Regions from separate parts of the Homo sapiens genome. Here all the other regions are linked to region 4. Evidence: promoter capture Hi-C in 16 types of primary human blood cells and fetal thymus (Javierre and others, 2016). All regions are on one chromosome and are shown on one strand. Each heading gives the region's core, a stretch centred on a gene start or on the middle of the fragment in contact. The rest is flanking DNA. Distances are from core to core; before and after follow the strand shown. Region 1 holds the start of ZMYND12 (zinc finger MYND-type containing 12). Region 2 holds the start of YBX1 (Y-box binding protein 1). Region 3 holds the start of PPIH (peptidylprolyl isomerase H). Region 4 holds the start of CDC20 (cell division cycle 20).

Region 1 (3,425 bases), core at 879-3,378, 900 kb after region 4:
AAAAAGGAAAATAAAGTCTTCTACAAAGCAAGCCATCTCTTCAGTCAGCTCTCCAGCCTTACCAAAGCACTTCGGTTCACAGCCCACTGCCCACTTTCAAATTCCTACTGCCATACTCCACCTGGAATGACCTTTCCCACTTCGTACACCCTCTGCTCATTTTGTTTTGATTTTTGGTGTTTTTTTTTTTTTTTGCGACGGAGTATCGCTCTCGTCGCCCGGGCTGGAGTGCAATGGCGAGATCTCAGCTCACTGCAACCTCCGCCTCCTGGTTTCAAGCGATTCTTCTGCCTCAGCCTCCCGAGTAGCTGGGATTACAGGCGCCTGCCACCACGCCCGGCTAATTTTTGTATTTTTTTAGTAGAGACGGGGTTTCACCATGTTGGCCAGGCTGGTCTCGAACTCCTGACCTCAGGCGATCTGCCCTCCTTGGCCTCCCAAAGTGCTGGGATTACAGGCGTGAGCCACCGCGCTCGGTTCTGCTCATCTTTTAAAACCCAGTTCAATTCATCTCCTCCAAGAAGCTTCATCGACTCCCCCAGGATTCACTCGCCCCATGATCTGACTGCACTTTGTACATACCTCCACTAGAGCATTTATCACTCTGTATTGTAATTATGTCTGTGTCCAGCTCCCTCACTAGATTGTGAGGTCCATGAGGGAGGGCGGTGTCTTATTCATCTCTGTATCCCCTGTGCCTAGCGAATACAGATGCAGAAAGGCCATCTCCAGATCAAGAGGAAATTAACCCAAGATTGGTTATATGGGATTAGATCTCTGGAAGAGAAGCGCCCATCACCTGCAGTGGGCCCCCAGATGACTGGATCTTGTGTTCAGGCATTTCAGAGACAGGAACATAGAAATCTGACACAGCCGCAGCCAGGTAAAACATCGCAGAAGGGCCTGCAAAGAGAAACACAAGGTGTTAACAAATCGGCGAGGTACGATATAGGATCAGCTCCTTCTCAACTCGGGTTCCCCAGCTGAGATCCGTGGGTAAGCAGGAGGTAAGGGGATAAGTGGCTGGAAAGAAAGGCTGTGCTTCCAGGCAAAAGGGGTACTCCTAGGGCACGCACCTAGCGGATTGAGTGCCTGGGCCGCAGCCTGCAACAGATGCAAATAGTCCGCCAAAGTGGTGAACTCTACTGCCAGGAAGGTGCCTGCAGCCGCAGCCTCCTGGTAGCTCCTCAGAGCCTCAGCAAAACCCGGAAGTGCATTCTCCTCGGCCTCCAGGCTCAGCAAGCCCGAAAGGGCTGGGCCCGAAGGCCGCAGAGCGGACAGCCAAGTCTGGGGTGGGAAGCGGTGGGCATAGGGGAAGGCAGAGCGAGCGCGATACAAGAACAGGACCCCGTAGCCGGCGGCTAGGAAGGCCTCGGCCGAGGTTGCACCGCGCCGCCCGCTGCTGAAGTTGTCCAGGAAGCGCACCGGCCGCGCTTCCAGTGGGACCTTGGTGCCGCCTGACGTAACCAACACCACCCGCCGGCCCTGCGCGCCCAGCCTGGCCGCGAAGCGAGCCATAACCTCAGCCCAGCGCGCAGCACCGGGAGGCTGGGGGAACTCGGCTACCGGATCCATTTCCGCCATCTGCAGCGCAGCGGCCGGCGCCTGCGCACGTTTCGCGGCCGCCGCGCCACGCCCCTTCTCGCCTACCTGGTGTACGCGCCGCGCCGTACTGAGTGGGCGGTTCACTACCCTTCTTTTGACACTAGGTCCCGATCTCGCCAAGTCTGGAAATGCGTAGTTGTTCTGCCCCAGAGCCCAGCGAAAGTGACACTGCAACGAGGGGGATCCCCGGCTGGGTGGGCATCTGGTAGGGTCACGTTCCCTCACGTTCGTTTCCTAGCCTGGGTGAAGAACTGGCCATGTTTGACCCTTACCGGCCACTGTACGGGCCTTTCTGGACTTGGACTCCTTGGGAGTCGTTTCTCGGCCATTTGACCCGTGGGACTTGTGGGTTTTGTGCTGCTTTTTCTTTCTTTCTTCCCCTTTTCCAACTTCAGCAATACACCCAGATGTTAGTCGAGTCACGTCCCGCCGCCCTCTGCCCTTGAAATGCTGGCAAGTACGCAGCCCCGCGATCGTCACGTGACGCCGGGGTTCAGCGTATCCTTGCTGGGCAACCGTCTTAGAGACCAGCACTGCTGGCTGCACCATGAATGTGATCTACCCACTGGCAGTCCCCAAGGGGCGCAGACTCTGCTGTGAGGTGTGCGAAGCCCCAGCCGAGCGGGTGTGCGCGGCCTGCACAGTCACTTATTACTGGTAGGCCCTGAAACGTGGCACCTGGGCGCTATAACTCCCTCCCTCTCTCCCTTTCCCGGGTCTGGCTTGGGTACCTTGCGTTAGCCGTTGCCCCTGACTCTGCAAGGGACACCTCAAAACGGCTTTAAGACAGGCCCCTAAGACTCCCGTGGCCTCGTCTGTCTCATCTCCCACTTATTCGTCACTCATGTTTTCTGAAGGCGTACTCTGTGTTATGCACTATTTTAGGTGCTAAAGTTACTGGGGCAGCTCGGTAGATCAGTTCCTTCAAAGATCTAACATTCCAATGTGGGAGACAAATCAGTAAAGAAACAGGCCGGGCGCGGTGGCTCACGCCTGTAATCCCAGCACTTCGGGAGGCCGAGGCGGGCGGATCGCCTGAGGTCAGGAGTTCGAGACCAGCCTGGCCAACATGGTGAAACCCTGTCTCTACTAAAAAATACAAAAATTAGGCGGGAGTGGTGCTGGGCGCCTGTAATCCCAGCTACTCGGGAGGCTGAAGCAGAAGAATCGCTTGAACCCGGGAGGCGGAGCTCGCAGTGAGCGGAGATCGCGCCACTGCACTCCAGCTTGGGCAACGAGAGTGAGACGATAGTGAATGGGGCAGTATGTGGAAAGCTTTCCCTGTGGAAGAAACATTTGAGCTGCATTTTGAGAGGGCAGTCAGAACCTGCTGTGTACAGGAGTAGTGAAGAAGGGTAGGGCATTCCCGGCATCCGGGACTGCTAGGGCAAATGGCAAAAGAACAGAGTTTGCTAAGGGCCGAGTGGAGAACGTAGTAGTGGAGGGAGCAGTCAGTGATTTTCAAACTGCAGGCCAGGGCCCTTTAGCAGTTTATGAATAAGTCACAATCACCATTTAGAGAAAACAACAACAACAAAAAAGAGCACAGAATGAGTAGAAAGTATCAGGTTAATCCTACCTGAATTGTTTCTTAAAACTTTTGTCTTAGTGTTTTATGTGGACATGTGTGTGTGTACAGGAAAAATGTATTTCTTACTATAGGTTGAGTCAAAATTAGCCGGATGTGGTGGCGTGCACCTGTAATCCTAGCTACTCGGGAGGCTGAAGCAGGAGAATCGTTTGAACCCGGGAGGCGGAGGTTGCAGTGAGCCGAGATCGCTCCATTGCACTCCAGCTTGGGCAACAAGAGTGAAACTGTG
Region 2 (3,475 bases), core at 87-2,586, 680 kb after region 4:
GGAATGGCTCATTCACTCCGCTTGCCTTTTGAATTGCTTTGTACTGTGACGAAGCCTTTTAAGTTAGCTTCAAATTAATATTTAGCTGCAAAACAAAGGCATTCTCTAGATCCACTAATCCCTAATCAAGGAAAACAACAACAACAAAAAATCATACTAATACACCAGAGGTAGTAAACGCCTTTCAGAACAGAGCTGTGGATTGGGGCTTCCCAAGCCCCGAGAAGCCGACAGAGCAGGAAGCAAGCAAGAAGGTGGGATGGAGGCTTCAGAGCCCGGCAGCTCACCTGTTGATGAAACCATATCCGTTCCTTACATTGAACCATTTTACTGTTCCCAAAACCTTCGTTGCTGGAAAAGAAAACAAAGCAAAACAAGCCACGATTACCAGCTATCCTTTTCCAAATCCGCCCGGCTTGGGCATCCGGTCCCTCGCACGCCGGCCGCCGCGGCCACCTGACAGCCCTTTCTCTCCACCGCCCGGGTGCGGGGCCACGCAGTCGCCGCCGCCGCCGCACACGTGGGTGAGTCTGAAGCGCGGGGCGCTCCAGGGCAGGCCCGGGGCGCGGGCCCCAGGATGGGTGTGTGCGCAGGCCGCGGACGGAGAGCACGTGAGGGAAGGGGAAGCCGCTCCGGCCTGCGTAGGCGGTGCGCCGCGCCCTCCGAGCACACGCGGAAGGGAGCTGGGTGGGGGTGACGCGAACAACGGCGTGCGGGCCCGAGCGCACGAGGCCGGTCGGCGGGGAGGGGACCCCGTCGCACACGCGGTCGGCGGCGCGCGGCCGCAGGGGGAGGGGCGCGCGGCCGCGCGGGGTCCACAGGGGGCGCGGGAGGCAGTGCGCGCGCGCCTGCCGGGCGGGTCCCCGCGAGAGGGAGTGAGGGGGGGACGGGGGGGATGGGCGGCCGCGCGCCGCGGAGTCGGTGCCCACCGGCCGCGCGCCCGCCGGCTCGCCCAGCTCCGGCTAACGGTTCCGCTGCTGGGCTGCCCGAGGGCCCCACCCCCGTCCCTGTCCGGTCCTCACCGATGACCTTCTTGTCCCCGCCGGCAGGCGCCGCCGATGTGAGGCCGCCCGGGCCACCGCTCCCTGCGCCGCTGCCCGTAGTGCCGGGCTTGGTGTCGGCGGCGCTGAGGGCGGGGGCGGCGGGGGGGGCGGCGGGCGGCTGCTGGGTCTCGGCCTCGCTGCTCATGGTTGCGGTGATGGTGACTGGGGCCGGCTGCGGCAGCTGCGGCTCCTCCCGGGGTGTGATGGTAACTAGGCCGGCGGCGGCGGTGGGGCTGCTCAGGGCTCTCTGGGGTCCGCTCTCCGCTCCCGCTACCGATCGAACTAGCGAGAATGGCGGGACAGGCGGGATAAGCCCTACGAGCGACCCGCCCTAGGCGTTGTTCACTGGCCAGTGGTACTGTCAATCTGCCCACCTGACCCCAATCCCTAGCTTCTATTGGCTAATATTTTATCAGTCCTCCATTCTCATTGGACCTTTGGCGGCTAATTCAGTCGACCTACAACCGTTCCTGCCTCCGCCGGCCGCCATAGAGACCGGAACTAGAATTAGAGTAGTCGGCCACGAAAACCATAGAGTACCCGAGAGGACGGGCAGAAGGAACGTGACTTCCACGAGGCAGCCGCCGGGCTGGCGGGCCCCACGTTCAGGGTTGTGTCTCGGCTGAAAAAAAGGCACGCCCGAACGCTGGGCAGGGATTACCCGGCCGGACCCGGGATTGGAAGGGGGCTCGAAGACGCCTTAGCCCCCCGTGAAGAAAAGGCTTCCCTCCCTCCCAGCTCCAAATACGGTCCCTGTGATCTGAGAACATTACGGCGGGCATAGAGTCGTCTTTTCTTTAATGGCCGTGTAGTCGCGGCACAGCCGAGGGTTTCTGGAATTGCCTTAAACGTATGCGTTTGAAGAGCGTACCCTTTTGTCGGAGCAGTCACCTTGGAGGGACCACGCAGGCTATGGCAGCCCGGGTTCAGCATGTTTAGGGCGAGGGTGTGCTCCATGGGGACCTGCCTTCTGATCCGTTTTACCAGGCATATATTTAAAAAAATGTGTCTTCCTTTCCAAGTATTCACATCTTTTTCTACTGACCACAAATCAGATTTAATTCAACTCACATTTATTGAACAAGCTAGCCTGTTTTGTTTTTTCACTTTATTCCTGCAACAGCCACGTGATAGAGGGATTACTATCCACGTTTCACAAACGATAAAATTGAGGCTGCCACCTGATGTTACTGAAGTCCTCCACCCACCTTCTTTCGTTCTTTTTTAAGCGTCTACTATCGGCTGGGGATGGAATAGTTCGCGAGTCAGTTTCTGCCTTCTGATGGAGGCAGAAATTTAAACAGCCAACACGGTAAATACTCCAGAGCTGCAAAACCACGAAGTATTTTGGGAGTGGAAGCAGGGAGAAGGTGGAGGGCTGACTTTCCGCGCACAGGGTACAGGCGAGAAGAGGTGAGATCTCGGGAAATGCAGTCAAGTAGTTCAGTAAGACTCGAATGTGACATTGGGTTGCAGAGGTGGGCAGTCACTTAGGTATATTTAATTGGAAATATATCCTGAGGGGAAGAGTGAGAAGAGCAATTTTAGAGTCATAAGTAGGGAGGGGCATCTTTTTAAAAATGGCTGCGGAGTGGAGAATGGGTTGCAGAGGGGCAAGGAATGGAAGTAGAGAAAGCAGTTAGGAGGCTAATGCAGTATTCCTTACCCCTACCAATGCCGTCTAGGCCTGTGAGTTCCACCTCCTAAAGGCGTTCTTGAGTCAGTCCTAAACCCTCTAAATGTCAATTCAGAGTCTTTTCATTCCTACTGTCACTACTGTAGGCCATCATCACCAATTGCTTAGAGCAAGGGGTAGGAACCTTTTTCTGTGAGAGCCAAATAGTTAATAATATAAGCTTGGCCGACCATATGGTTCTGACTTACTACTCAGGTTTGGAGCTTGAAAACAGCCTTAATTTTTACATGACACGAATCTTTACATATTTTCAACTATTTAAACATTTTAAAAACCATTTGTATTCTTAGCTCATGAGCCACAGAAAAACGGAGTGTAGTCGGCTGACCCCTAGCATAGAGCAGTGCTGTTGGCTACTAACCACACCTCTCTACCTCTTTCTTACTCTAATATTACCCACCACAACAGCCAGAAAGTTCTTTTGAGAACATCTATCTGATCATGACACTGTCTTACTTAAAATCTTCCAGTGACTACTATTACCCTTAGGGTAGTCCAGATTCCATAATGTGGTTTACTGGACTCTATGACTTCTAAGAGAAGTCTTAGAGTCTTCTCTTGTATTCCCTGTCCAACCTTCCAGGTGCTTGTAACTACTGGCTGCAGGATACTGCAGGAGCAGAGGTAGCAAACAGCTGAATTCTATGAAAATAGAAATTGGTTAAAAGTGTTGCTTCAGTGTATCAGATGACAAGGGAGATGGTGAAATATTACAAGGGCCCTACAGAATAGACAC
Region 3 (3,588 bases), core at 906-3,405, 700 kb after region 4:
CATGCCTGTAGTCCTGGCTACTCGGGAGGCTGAGGCAGAAGAATTGCTTGAACCCAGGAGGCGGAGGTTGCAGTGAGCCAAGATCATGCCACTGCACTTTAGCCTGGGCGACAGAGTGGGACTCTGTCTCAAAAAAACAAAACAAAACAAAAAAAACCTGAAGATTATTCTTTTCCTGAATGATTAAGCTGAAAGGATAATTAACCATAAAAAAGGATTTTCGTTATAAATTAGGGCATGTTAGAGTTGATCAAGTGCATGATCTGGTACCTGAACAGTAATAAGAAGAAGGGGCTGAAAGCTTACTTGCCAAAGCAAAAGGCAGAGCAAGGGTTTGATGTAAATTTGGGGGAAAGAACTACAGAGAATTTATGTGAAATGTACTGCTAAACATGTAAGGGCTTAACAACTGTTAGCTATTACCCCTAGGGAGGGTCCTTAACCTTTCTTATCCTCAGTTTCCTCCTCTGTAGAATGCAGATCACCCATACCACTTCACAGGAGTCTTACTGGGGATTAGAGACCCAAAGCTCTAAAGCTGTGATATAATTATGTGCTAACATTGTTACTAACCACAGTGAGGCCATGAGAAAGATTCTATATTGAAATGAGACTAAGTGTTGACATACTCCACTCCCCAGGAAATATGATTATCCTTGGACAATCATATATGATCATTTTAGGAATTAGTTATAAATATCAACCAGCAGGATATATTATATGCACTTTAGGATTACAAGTGTACTTTTTAAAAAATCTGCATTCGCACAAACAAGTGCATGAAAAAGACAAGATATTGTAAAGATGAGTAGTTTCTGTTTTAAAGACCTAAGAAGTGGGGGAGTGTAAGTAGAGTTAGAACATTTAATAAATCTTCAGTTGTTGAGTCCACAAAAACATTTCTTCTCAAGAAATGTAAGAATTACCCTCTGGTTTTATTTTCCTCTAAAGAGCCTAATCCCCCAGGAAATATTTCTGAAAGACTCCAGGATGGCTTGCCAAGAGCCTTACCTGTGGAAGGTGCTTCCTTTGTATCCTATTGGAACCCCATCTTTCCTATAACCGAAAAGAAAGAGACTTGGAGTGACAGCAGGTAGCACAAGGCCTTTCCAGTTTACCATGCACTGGAGCCAAAAGGACTCTCCTAAAGATGGTTGACAGACATAAAGAAGGCAAATAAACTAGGGACAGACCCTTGGGGCATTACCTTCTATCACTGTCACCAGCAATCATTCAAGGCCAGCAGGTGGTTCACCGATACCCTCACTGCAGCCCCAGAACACCCCTCTGGAGCAGGCAAAGAAGTCAAACACATCTGAAACTGACCTGAATTCTCCGGTGCAGAACTGCCTGAAAGGGACAAAAAATGAATGATTCAATCACTATGATGTCACAGTCGTGAGCGCCTCTAAATACGGGAAAGAATAAACACTGGAGCCAGCAAGTCCACCAATCGGCCAGCCAGACGTCCAGACACGCAGTCACACAGACTAACAACGTAAATTAACACGGGAACAATCCAAACGGCAACCAGACAGAGCAATGCATGGAGGAATCAGGTCTCAAGAGCAGTGAGCGGACGGACAGAGGTAGACAGGCTATTTCAGGCGGCTGACTGGAGCCCGACTTCTGCCTCAGCTAATCCAGCGGAGCTGGAGCACGTCCTTACCTAAAGTTCTCGGCCGTCTTAGGCACAACGTCTGCAAAGAGCTCGATCTTCATGCGGCCAACTTCCTGCAATCAGCGGGAGAGTGTCAGAAGGCCCAGTCCAAGACCATGAGGGCTTCACGGAGCAGGGGGCATGATGGGCTGACCCACCACCCTGCCGCTCGGTATCTCCCACCTCCGCCTCCCTAGTCTAACCGCCCAGTTCCTCCAGAAGCGGGGCGCTAGGATTGGGGAGACTCCTCCTCCTCCTTTCCCCCCGCCCGGCAGGTCGGTAGGTTCGGGTGCAATTTCACTTTCTGGCTGGCTTCCCGAGTCCGCTCTCTCTGGGTGAGTTCTGCCTGCCTAGCCCCGAGCAGTTTCCCTTCGGCGCAGGTGTGGGCAGCCTCCTGGATCTCACCTGACCGCCAATACTGACATCAAAGAACACCACGGGGTTAACAGGACTTGAATTTGCCACCGCCATGGCTCCGACCCGGAAGCAGAAGTCGGGAGCGTGGGATTCCGGCGAACCTAAAGCCCGGTCCGCGGATTTCGTCCGGGGAGCAGGCGCGGTAGACGTGGAGCGAGACCAGGCTCCGCCCCCGGAAGCTGTCGCCCCGTGCGGTGTGTGCTGAGACTGCTAGGGTCTAGCTGAGAGACTCTGCCTGGCACTGGGGACGCGGGAGTGAGGAGGAGGAAAGCCTTGACATCTTTTTGGTTAAGGTCAATGGTCACCCCACTCACGTGGCTGTACTAAGGGCAGTACAAGTTGATCTTGCTCTAGCTAGGACTTTTGGACTAGGCAGTCGCCAGGGTCCTCCTTATCGGCTCTTGCAGCCAAGCCCTCTGCACCGCCACACGTGCTGTCTGTCTTCTGCCCGCTAGTGTGAACACCGTGAAGGCAGGAACTCTGGTTTGTTCATCCTCAGCGTTTAGAACAGCTTGGCACGTACAGGCTTGCTAAGTAAATATCCCTTCCTCTAAGTCAGGACAATAGATAATGTTTGTTCTGCCACAAAAGCTACCAGTTTTGTCATTTCCAATTCATTTCCCATAAAGCAACTAGAGTTTTTTATTTTTTATTTTTAAAATAACTCTTGTGCTTCCTATTTATTTTAAAAATAACTCCTGGCTTCCCATATTTAGAATAAAATCCAATTCCGTGCATACGAAGCCCTACAGTGCATTTATCTGGCTATCACGTACCTGACCTCATCTTGTACCACTTGCCCTTAGTTACTGTGCTCTGACCTGTCTGTTCCTCCAGGTCACTGAGATCCCTCCTCTCTTTAGGGCTTTGTAATAGCTGTTACTTCTGTCTGAAATATTCCTTCCAGAACTTAATGTGGGTTGGCGGGGGATTGTGGGGGTTGGTTGGGGTATGCGTGTGGGAAGTAATGCTCCTTGTAGTTCAGGGCTCACCCCAGATGTTACCTCCTGAGAGGCAACATTAGACCTAATCTAAAGTAGCCCTTGGTCATTCAGATCACTGGTTTGTTTTCTTCATGCCACCCCCACTTCCACATTATCTTCGTATGGTATGTGTCTACACCTCATTTCCTGCCACACACACATAATCTTCCTCCCTGATAGCATATAAACTCCATGAAAGTAGAGACTCTCCTGGTCCTATTCGCAGCTGTAGCTGCAATGTCGCCTACTGAATAGCATATAGTAGGTATTCAATAAATAATAGATGCAATGAATTTAGTGAAAGAAGGGGACCTTGGGCAAGGCTCATTCAATATAACAGCATGCATTTAATAAAATAGTTATTATTTCCTAGTTCCTATGATCATCTTTCTAGCTCTGTTGTCTGAGAAAGCAAGGATTACATATAAAAATACAGTGTGTCTCAATGTAAAGGGTCATTTTTATTTCTGGTTACTGATCCTCTCCTCTTGGTCTCCTCCAACTGAAAAAGAAGAAAGGGGAGGAGGG
Region 4 (3,471 bases), core at 1-2,500:
CTCAGGAGGAAGCTGGCCACCTCCATCTGGGCAGCACTGCGATGGGGGATATAGCGGTCACCGCCAGGTTTGCTAGGAGTGGTCTGAACCTTGGAACTGGATTTGCCTGGGGCGGAGAAAGAGAAGACAGTCTGACCAGGCTCCCCAGGGAGAAAGTATGAAGGCTGCTCTCACTCAGTTCCTTTGGCACCTCACTGACCAGGAGTTCGGCCCGGAGTCCTGCCGGCGCTGTGGGATCGGTTGGCGGCCCGCATGGGTGAGGGGGCCGGGCCTGCGGCTTCCTTGGCTTTGCGCTGCCAGCGCGCAGGGGGTGCATTGGGGATGGGTGCATCCAGCTGAAGCAGCGAGTGCAGGTCACTCTCGAACGCGAACTGTGCCATGGGAGCGCCCGCAGGGGGAGGGGTCCTTGCAGTTGGTGCCTACGGAGCCCTGGAGGAAAGGAGGCGACGGTGCTCAGGGGACAGAAAGGGACCCCTTCGCTCCTGGCCGGCCACAAAATCAGGGCCACCCTCGGCTGCAGCCCCTTCCGGCCTAGCACCCCCTCCCCCTGGCCACGGCCCCACCTCGGCTCAGCCCCACCACCTCTCACCGTGCCCTCCGGAGCAGTTCCGACCGGCTTTAACACGCCTGGCTTACGCCTCTTAAACTCTCCGCTCCGAGCGCCTATTGGCTCCTTCAAAATCCAACCGTCGCAACCGTTGCCCTAGCCCATTGGCCTCTCCGGCGAAGGGGGCGGGCCTTCCGGGGAAAGTCTCAGCTATCACGAGAGTCTAGCGGCGGAGCGCGATTTGAAGGGTACGAGAGGGGCTGGGAGCCGGCGCCAGAGGACTAGTACTGGAAAGCCGGCCGGGACAGGGCGGGGCAGGGCGGGGCCGGGTGGGGCCTGCGCTGCCTCAGCGTCCTGGAGTCGTCTCGGTTCGCCCTTTTGCGTGCCTTCCACCGCCGCGAGCTCGGAATGTCTGGCCCCGGGTGCTTCAGGGTCCGAGAACCTGCAGAAGTTCACACTTAAATCCTACACGAGAGTCGTATTTATGATGCAGAACTCGGTGCAGAACCCGATGGAGTGCCCAAGGCGCTTGAGCCGTTCCTAGAAGGGGAAGGAGAGCCGCGGGCGGCAGCGGGGCAGGGGACGGAATTGGGAAGCTTGGGAGCAGGAAGAAGGCCAGAGCTACTTAGGGTACATTCCACTTTTGCTTGGCGCCGGGTAGGAACCCTGCTAGAAAGGAAGTAACGTGTGTTTGTCTCGTTTGCTGTTGTTTTACAAACAGGGAAAATGAGGTTGAAAAGGGTGAATGAATTCCTTAAGGTCAAGAAAAAGGATCGGTATTCAAACCTGCCTATCTGGAAGATAAGCTTAGACTGCCCTACAGGAGGCACTGTGGCTTATCCCCTTGGGGCTTTAAAGATGTGAGGACCTTAGAGATCCATTAGTCTAACCTGTGCGTGGTGCAGCCTCCCCACCCCGACAACAAATCCATATTTTACAGATGGAGAAACGGAGGCCCAGGGAAGGGATGTGCCCGAGGTCATACAAAGAAGTTTGTGGGAATCCAGGTCTGACTCGCACTCAATCTAGTGCTCTAATAATGACTTGAGTGAATTGTATGAATGTGCTCAGAGGTGGAGCAGCAATCATAAAAGTAATAATGGTACCATTTATGGACCATCTAACTACTGTGTTAAAACAATTTACAGGCCATGCGCGGTGGCTCACGCTTGTAATCCCAGCACTTTGGGAGGCCGAGGCGGGCAGATCACGAAGTCAGAAGATCGAGACCATCCTGGCTAACACGGTGAAACCCCGTCTTTACTAAAAATACAAAAAATTAGCCGGGCTTGGTGGCGGGCGCCTGTAGTTCCAGCTACTCGAGAGGCTGAGGCAGGAGAATGGCGTGAACCCGGGAGGCGGAGCTTGCAGTGAGCCGAGATCGAGCCACTGCACTCCAGCCTGGGCAACAGAGCGATACTCTGTCTGAAAAAAAAAAAAAAAGTTTACATACATTATCGAGTTCAATCCTTAATCCCATAAGGCAGATAGATACCCCATCTTCCCTTTACAGAAAAAAGAAACTGGGTCAGAAAGATTAGAAACTTGCCCAAAGGCATGCAGCCAATAATAAGTAGGGGAGCCCAGGATTCAAACTATCTGACTAATCCCTGCAATCTAAACAATACGCTATACTGTCCCAGAAAGAGGCTGGAAAAATCATTTTCAGTCATTAGCTTAAAGTCCACTCCGATGCTTACAGATAATGTTATTATCTTTGACTTGAAGCCTTTGCATTCTCTATTTCCAATTACCTTGGAAAATAAGGAATTGGATATGCTTAGGTTAGAGGTGGGGAATTCCCAGAAAACATAGAAAAGGTTGTCTCATGTCAAGTTGGTCAGGGTCTTAAATGTTAAGCTAAAGACTTTGGACTTCATCTGCTAGGCATTGTGGTACCTGTGGGGTTTCTGTGTAGGGAAGGACCAAATAAAACATCTGAGGGGGGGGATATGGCAATAATTTGCAACTTCTGGTGGTAGCTATAGAGAAGGATAAAGGGTATAGCCTCAGGGAATTTGTACATTTAAAAATAAAGGATTTGGGCAGGTTGTCATGGTTCACTCCTGTAATCCCAGCACTTTGGGAGGCCAAGGCGGGCAGATCACTTGAAGTCAGTAGTTCAAGACTAGTCGGGCCAATGTGGCGAAACCCTGTCTCTACTAGAAGTACAAAATTAGCCAGGTGTGGTGGTGCACACCTGTAATCCCAGCTACCTGGGAGGCTGAGGCAGGGGAATCGCTTGAACCTGGGAGGCGCAGGTTGTAGTGAGCGAGGTCGCGCCACTGCACTCTAGCCTGGGTGACAGAGGGAGACTTTGTCTCAAAATAATAATAATAATAAATGAATGAAGGAAGGCAATGGAAATTATCCAGACATGGATCTTGAAGTGGGAGATACCCTAATATATGTAGTCAAGTGGAATGATGACAGAAAGGGTCAGATTTGGCCATTGAAAATCAAATTACCGATGACTTTGGAGAGAGCAGGATCAGGAAAGTGGGTGCTTGAGATCCATTTTGGAGGAGTTGCGGAAAGAATGAAATAGGGAGAACGGGAAGCCGGCAAGTATAGGTGACTTGTGTAGCCCATCCCCTGATATCCTCTATATTCGTTTGCTAGAGTTACTGTAACAAAGTACCACAAACTGGCTTAAATGACAGAAATTGGTTGTCTCACAATTCTGGAGGTTAGAAGTTCCAGATCAAGGTGTCATGAGAGTTGTGTGAGAACCGTGAGGAAGAATCTGTTCCATGCCTCTCTCCTGGCTTCTGGTGGTGGTTTGCCGGCAATCTTTGTCATTCCTTGGCTTATAGAAGAATCGCCCTGTTCTCTGCCTTCATCTTCACTTGGCTTTCTTTCTGTGTGTATGTGTGTCCAATTTTCTCTTTTTATAAGAATACCAATCATATTGAACTAGGGCC

The links. The method cuts DNA at HindIII sites, captures the fragments that hold promoters and counts their contacts. A CHiCAGO score of 5 or more calls a contact.
Region 1: a contact is called between the fragment with the promoter of ZMYND12 here and a fragment that was not itself captured in region 4, in 1 of 17 cell types (naive CD8 T cells). The highest score is 5.5, in naive CD8 T cells.
Region 2: a contact is called between the fragment with the promoter of YBX1 here and a fragment that was not itself captured in region 4, in 3 of 17 cell types (total B cells, fetal thymus and naive CD8 T cells). The highest score is 7.3, in total B cells.
Region 3: a contact is called between the fragment with the promoter of PPIH here and a fragment that was not itself captured in region 4, in 1 of 17 cell types (total CD8 T cells). The highest score is 5.1, in total CD8 T cells.

The regions. Positions count from the first base shown.
Region 1 is chr1:42,454,725-42,458,149 of GRCh38, reverse strand. It overlaps ZMYND12 (zinc finger MYND-type containing 12), which reads left to right and starts at 2,128. Exons shown (of 8, transcript NM_032257.5): 1 at 2,128-2,262. The coding sequence starts at 2,153. It overlaps PPCS (phosphopantothenoylcysteine synthetase), which reads right to left and starts at 1,607. Exons shown (of 3, transcript NM_024664.4): 1 at 1,077-1,607; 2 at 800-903. The coding sequence starts at 1,584. It also overlaps a transcript of CCDC30 not described here. RefSeq lists enhancers at 1,257-1,376, 1,467-1,536, 1,777-2,006. The HindIII fragment of the contact is 2,356 bases long and covers 527-2,882 here.
Region 2 is chr1:42,680,279-42,683,753 of GRCh38, reverse strand. YBX1 (Y-box binding protein 1) reads right to left here and starts at 1,336. Exons shown (of 8, transcript NM_004559.5): 1 at 1,023-1,336; 2 at 288-351. The coding sequence starts at 1,188. It also overlaps a transcript of PPIH not described here. RefSeq lists silencers at 431-580, 691-800, 991-1,190 and an enhancer at 1,631-1,680. The HindIII fragment of the contact is 3,657 bases long and covers 1-2,901 here.
Region 3 is chr1:42,656,990-42,660,577 of GRCh38, reverse strand. PPIH (peptidylprolyl isomerase H) reads right to left here and starts at 2,155. Exons shown (of 10, transcript NM_006347.4): 1 at 2,066-2,155; 2 at 1,670-1,734; 3 at 1,327-1,350; 4 at 1,012-1,056. The coding sequence starts at 2,131. CCDC30 (coiled-coil domain containing 30) reads right to left here. Exons shown (of 21, transcript NM_001395517.1): 21 at 3,388-3,588. All of the region lies in intron 1 of LOC124904162 (a long non-coding RNA gene), which reads left to right. The HindIII fragment of the contact is 5,565 bases long and covers 304-3,588 here.
Region 4 is chr1:43,356,125-43,359,595 of GRCh38, reverse strand. It overlaps CDC20 (cell division cycle 20), which reads right to left and starts at 615. Exons shown (of 11, transcript NM_001255.3): 1 at 590-615; 2 at 200-429; 3 at 1-106. The coding sequence starts at 380. It overlaps CDC20-DT (CDC20 divergent transcript), which reads left to right and starts at 923. Exons shown (of 4, transcript NR_183650.1): 1 at 923-1,046; 2 at 1,488-1,554; 3 at 1,696-1,793. RefSeq lists silencers at 427-576, 767-876 and enhancers at 319-827, 1,167-1,226, 1,338-1,846. The HindIII fragment of the contact is 210 bases long and covers 1,146-1,355 here.